Linked DNA regions of Homo sapiens: region 1 is linked to region 2. Evidence: promoter capture Hi-C in 16 types of primary human blood cells and fetal thymus (Javierre and others, 2016). All regions are on one chromosome and are shown on one strand. Each heading gives the region's core, a stretch centred on a gene start or on the middle of the fragment in contact. The rest is flanking DNA. Distances are from core to core; before and after follow the strand shown. Region 1 overlaps CCDC43 (coiled-coil domain containing 43). Region 2 holds the start of UBTF (upstream binding transcription factor).

What was found. The method cuts DNA at HindIII sites, captures the fragments that hold promoters and counts their contacts. A CHiCAGO score of 5 or more calls a contact.
Region 1: a fragment that was not itself captured here is called in contact with the fragment with the promoter of UBTF in region 2 in 1 of 17 cell types (M2 macrophages); the score reaches 5.2 in M2 macrophages.

What each region holds. Positions count from the first base shown.
Region 1 is chr17:44,686,973-44,689,672 of GRCh38, reverse strand. CCDC43 (coiled-coil domain containing 43) reads left to right here. Exons shown (of 5, transcript NM_144609.3): 1 at 1-123. LOC105371792 (a long non-coding RNA gene) reads right to left here. Exons shown (of 4, transcript XR_007065769.1): 2 at 1,650-1,819; 3 at 1,380-1,495; 4 at 660-732. Among named protein-coding and RNA genes, the nearest start is that of CCDC43, 1.5 kb to the left of the region's middle. RefSeq lists an enhancer at 1-164. The HindIII fragment of the contact is 825 bases long and covers 985-1,809 here.
Region 2 is chr17:44,218,348-44,221,047 of GRCh38, reverse strand. UBTF (upstream binding transcription factor) reads left to right here and starts at 1,373. Exons shown (of 21, transcript NM_014233.4): 1 at 1,373-1,603. The region is part of intron 1 of ATXN7L3-AS1 (ATXN7L3 antisense RNA 1); the gene reads right to left. RefSeq lists silencers at 1-156, 667-1,356, 1,483-1,647, 1,407-2,426, 2,477-2,646. The HindIII fragment of the contact is 14,974 bases long and covers 1-2,700 here.

The DNA of each region.
Region 1 (2,700 bases), core at 148-2,647, 470 kb before region 2:
GGACGGTTGGAGGCACTGGGAGTGGACCGAGCCGTTTATGGAGCCTACATCTTGGGTATCCTGCAGGAGGAGGAGGAAGAAGAGAAGCTGGACGCTCTGCAGGGGATCCTCTCTGCTTTCCTGGTGAGTAGCCTGGACACATTCCTTCAGCCTCTGGCCAGCATCTGAGGACCTGTCAGTACTTTGCACCCTCCCTCCCCTACCGGGTATCCCAGAGGCTCAGTGGTCTCACCTGGGAGAGGTATACTCCTCTGATATCTGGGCGGCGGGGGAAGGAGGTTGCTCCCCAACCAGGTGTGGGAAGCCTGAAAGCTGCAGGTACACAGAGAGGAAGGGCTTTCTCGTATTCTTGGGGACAAGGCCCTCTCCGATGCTTGTGAGTGAGCCGAGGAGGGTTCTTCCGAAGGCATTGAAATGTCAGAATGGGAATGTTATCATAAATATCTGACGACCAATTCCATTTCCATCCGTTTACAGTGTTCACTGGGGGTATTAAAATGCTCTTGGGAGGTCTGTGCCTATTACAAGGCAGTTCCCAGGGCTGTCCCATGACAGAAGCCTGCAGGAAGTGCCCTTTTGATTCTTATATGGATGTAGGAGTCCATAAAAGGTAAGCTGGTGGTAGAAGTCTTTTCATGCCCACGCAGAACTGAAGCAAACGTCGTGCTTGATCCATTACAGTATTTACAGTAATCATTGGTGGTGGGAAGGAGGGTATGAGAGAGATCAGAGCTTTAACGAAGAGAGAGAAACTTAGTCCTTAGCCTGTTAGAAGCAAGGTATTCAGAAATGTGTACTTTAAGCTATGTTTACATAGTAAGTCACCCAGATGTCCACTTTTTCAACCTGATCATTTCTGCTGCCTTCATCTTCACTTCCCACACCTCCAACATACACACTTATTAGACTGGTTATTACAGATTAAATTGGTTGTAGGTGCTACCTGTGGCTGTCTAACAAATTGTTTCCTTTTAAATACAAGCTTAAAAATAAAATTTACTTGAATCATCACTAAATGCTGTAGAAGCTAGAGTTGTCTCTGCATTCATGGATTAGAGGAGATCCTGGATACCTGATTGCTACTGTGAGAGCCACCTGTCTGTCCATCAAAGGCTTTATCCTCTGGCATTTATTACAATGGACAGGTTAGAAAAATGGGTTCTTTGTTATTCTCAAAACCAATTTTGAAAGGCTAGTAATAGAATCAAAATGTACCATGAGGTGGGGCACAGTGGCTCATGTTTGTAATCTCACCACTTTGGGAGGCTGAGGTGGGAGGATTGCTTGAGGCCAAGAGTTCCACACCACACTGGGCAACATAGCAAGACCCTGTCTCTACAAAAAAATTTAAAAAATTAGCCAGGTATGGTGGCGCATACCTGTAGTCCCAGCTACTCAGAAGTCTGAAGTGGGAGGATCACTTGAGCCTAGGAGGCTGTGGCTGCAGTGAGCCGTGATTGTGCCACTGCACTCCAGCTTGGGTGACAGAGTGACCCTGTCTCAAAGAAAAAAAAATTAGTATAAATATATATAGATATAAATGTACATATTCATATCTCATTTTTTTAAAAGGGTAGAAGGCAGAAACATTTTCAAATCCAAAAGTGTTTTGTGAAAGCGGAAACAAGTGCTAGGAAAAAATCACTCACATTTGGTGGAAGCAGTTCATAGATTGGGTACATGGTTGAAATATAACACTAGTGCAGCTGTCCCAGATTCTTCTGGCAGTAACCCATTTGAGTTCCAGAGCCTCTTCTGGCAAGATTGGCTTATAAATGGGAAAACTTTAACACAGCCTGTGAGGAAGCTTGGAAGTTCACTGGAAATACAAGACAGTGGAATCAATTCTTTTTTTGGACCACAACATTACAGATTATAGGGAGAAAGAGTAGGAGGCAAGCAATTTAAGGTAGTTTTTATTTACAGCTGGGAAGTTTCTAAACACTCCATGAAGCTGTTGAAATAACTTTGAGACTTCTTGGTACCAGCTTCTTGATCAGTCCATCATTATTTGGAGCTGTTTCTGTTGATAAAGGTAGACATTAGTTTGCCTTTTTTTTTTTTTAAGAGAGTCTCGCTCTGTTATAGTAATGTGATCATAACTCACTGTAGCCTTGAACGACTGGACTCAAGCAATCCCCTCTCATCAGCCTCCCAAGTAGCTAGGACTACAGGCACCTGCCATCACATATCATGCCTGGCTAACTTTTTTTTTTATGTTTTATGTTTTATTTTTTGAGACAAAGTCTCACTCTGTCACCCAGGCTGGAGTGCAGTAGCAAAATCTCGGCTCACTGTAACCTCTGCCTCCTGGGTTCAGGTGATTCTCAGCCTCCCGAGTAGCTGGGATTACAGGCATATGCCACCATGCCTGGCTAATTTTTATATTTTTAGTAGAGATGGGGTTTCACCATGTTGACCAGGCTGGTCTCAAACTCCTGACCTCAAGTGATCCACCCATCTCAGTCTCTCAAAGTGCTGGGGCTATAGGCGTGAGCCACCACACCCAGCCATGCCTGGCTAATTAAAAAAAAAAAATTTTTTTTTGTAGAGACAGGGTTTTGCCATGTTGCTCAGGGTGGTCTTATGCTCCTGGGCTCAAGACATCCTCCTGCCTTGGCCTCCCAAAGTGCTGAGATTACAGATGTGAGCCTCTGTGCCTGACTTGGGCTAGGATTTAATATGAGGAATTTAGAAGTT
Region 2 (2,700 bases), core at 124-2,623:
CGCCCGGAGGAGGCGGAGGGGCCAGGCGAGGCCGGGGTGGCCCGGGAGGCGGCGGCGCCGAGGCGGCTCTGACGGGCAAGCGCTCGGAGCGGCGCTGCGCTGCGCCGAGGCGGGCGGGCGGGCGGGCGGAGCGGGGCGGGCGGAGCGCGGCGCGTGGGGCTCGCCATTAGCCGTCGCTCCGCTTCGCCATCTCGGGCTTTGTCTGGCGACTCGCTGCCCCGGCGTCGGCTGCAGCGGAGCTGCGGCTCGACTGTTCGGCCCGCCGTGCTCCCAGGTGCCCCCGGCCTGCGCTCCCATCCACACGCTCGGTAAGTGAGCCCGGGAGCCGCGGATTTCGGGGGAGAGGGGTTGCTACGAGTGGCGGCGGCGCCGATCTTCATGCGCCCGGGCAGGCCTGGAGAACCATGCCGGGCTGGATTGAACCGGCTCCCACAGCGGCCCCTCCGCCGGAGCCCGTCGTTCCCTTGCCGTTTCCGGGGTGTAAAGAGCAACGGGGATTTTTTTTTTTTAATGCAGAGGTTTTAGTTTTCGGGTTTTTTTTTAAGTTTCGTATGTGCCGTTCGGCAAGGAGAGGACCGCGAGGTAGGCACCGAAGCTGGACGCCGCGATCGGCGTGCGTGCGCCCCAAACCAGCGGCCACGCTCCGGGGGATGAGGGTGGGCGCGGACCGCTCGCTCCGGGAGGCGGGAGAGAGCTGGCCTGGAAGCCCTAGTCTGAGCTGGGAGAACTTGGGGGAGAGCTCCGGAGCAGGGCTGTGGGCGCCCCCCGAGCCTCCCCGGACGCCGGGGGCACCTCCGGGCACCCTCTCCGCGGCCGCACCTCGGCCCTCCCTCGCCGGCGAAGCCTGCTAGTTCCCCCGCGGGTCTGGCGAGGTCGCTCTCGGCGCCCGCCCGCCCGCCTAGGCTCCGAGCCCCGCCGCCATCCGGGCGGCTGCGTGTCTCCCTGCCCCGGCCCCCCCCCCCTTCCCCGGCGGCGGCAGCAGCAGCAGCAGCAGCCGCCGCCGCCGCCAGCACCACCACCACCACCCCCCTCCCCTCCTTCCTTCCCTCCGCCTCGGCCGCCCGGGTCCCCCCAGCTCCCGCCCCTCCTCCCAGCTGCCCCCCGCGGAGCCCGCCCGGGCAGGCTGTGGGAGGGAGCGGAGCCGGCGAGGCGGGCGGGCTGGCGCTCGCTCCCCGGGGGTCGGTGTGCGCTCTACGGGGAAGGACGCGCTCGCTGCCCCGCTTCTCCCGCCCCCCCTCCCGCTCCTCCTCCTCCCTTCTCCCTCCTCCTCCCCGCTCCGGCGGCTGAGGCTGCGGCGGCGGCGGGGGGTGTGCGAGCTGAGGCCGGGGCCGGCGGCGGGCGGGCTGCCTGCAGGCGGAGGGCGCTGTGCTTTGTGCTTTTCGCCGCGAGGAGCAGCAGGCAGCAGCCACAGCCGCCGCCGCCGCCGCCGCCGCCACAGCAGCAGCAGCCGCCGCCCCAGCGCCGCCGCCTCGCCCGGAGGAGGAGCCGCTGCCGCCGCGGGAGGGAGCTGCGGCTGTGCCCGGCCGAGCGGGGGAGGGCGCCGCCACTCAGAGCCAGGGAGGGAGCCGCTGGAGCGGGAAGCCCGGAGGCCGCGCTGCGCCGGGTAACCGAGGCGGCTGAGGACGCGCGCTGGGGTCGGGGCCGGACGGCGGGAGCGAACCGCGGGGTGCGGTGGGCGCCCAGCGGGGACCCGAAGCGACCACCGAGCAGGCGACCGGGCGCGAGCAGACCAGGGCACTTGGGAGGACGCCGAGAGCCGGGGGAGGGGAAGGCAGGAAGCGAGGCCTGAGCCGAGCCCCGGCCGCTGGCGGAGGAGCCCGCGCTTCTCGGAGCCGGCAGGCGCAGTTCTCCCCGGCCGCCGGAGGGGGCGGCGGGGCCGGTGAGCGCTGCGCCCCCGCCTCCCGGCCGCCGTCCTCCCGCCCTCTCCTTGGCTCGGCTCCCCGGAGGCCGGGGCGGGGGCGCCGGCGGGGCTGGGCCGCAGGCTCGGGGGAGGAGGCGGCGGTTCCCGCCGCGGTCGCGCCTCTGTGCCGGGCTCCTCCGTGCGCGTCGGGGTGGCTGGGCGGTGGCGGCGCCTCTGGCCGGGGTGGGTGGCTCGGGGGCGGGGGGCAGGCTAGGCCGCTTCTCTCCGGCTGCTTGCCCGCCTGTGCGGGCGGGGACGGCGAAGGGAGCCCGGGAGGGGGGAGCGGCGGGAATCCGGATCCGGTCCCCGGGGGCGGTGCGGCCGCTCCGCTCCGGGGCTGGCGGCGGCTGCGCTGCGTCCGGGTCCCCGCCGGGTTGCGGAGGCGGGGGGAACCGGCCGGGGGGAGGCGGGAGGAGGAGACTGGGGCGCGTGCCCGCTTCCGTGGCCGCGCGCGCCCTTTACCCGCCCTTCCTCTTCCCCCGCCCTCCAGCCTGGGGCCTCCCCGGGGCGGGCGCTCCGAGGAGGAGGAGATTTTTTCTTTTTTTTTTTTTTTGGCTGGGGTTGGGAAGCGGGGCGGAGGGCGGGCGCTCGCTGCACGCGGGAGCTAGGAGCAGGCCCTCGCGTGGCCAGGGGAGGGCGCGCGCCGCGGAGCCGGGCTGCAGGGGCTGGGGGAGGGGGTCACGAGGAAGAGGAGGGGCGCACTCCCATTCCCATAGACCCCTTAAGTCTAATAAGGTCATGGCTGAGTCTCTCAGAGTGTGGACCTGCCCCCTTCTACTCTGGGCGGTTAGAAAGTCGTT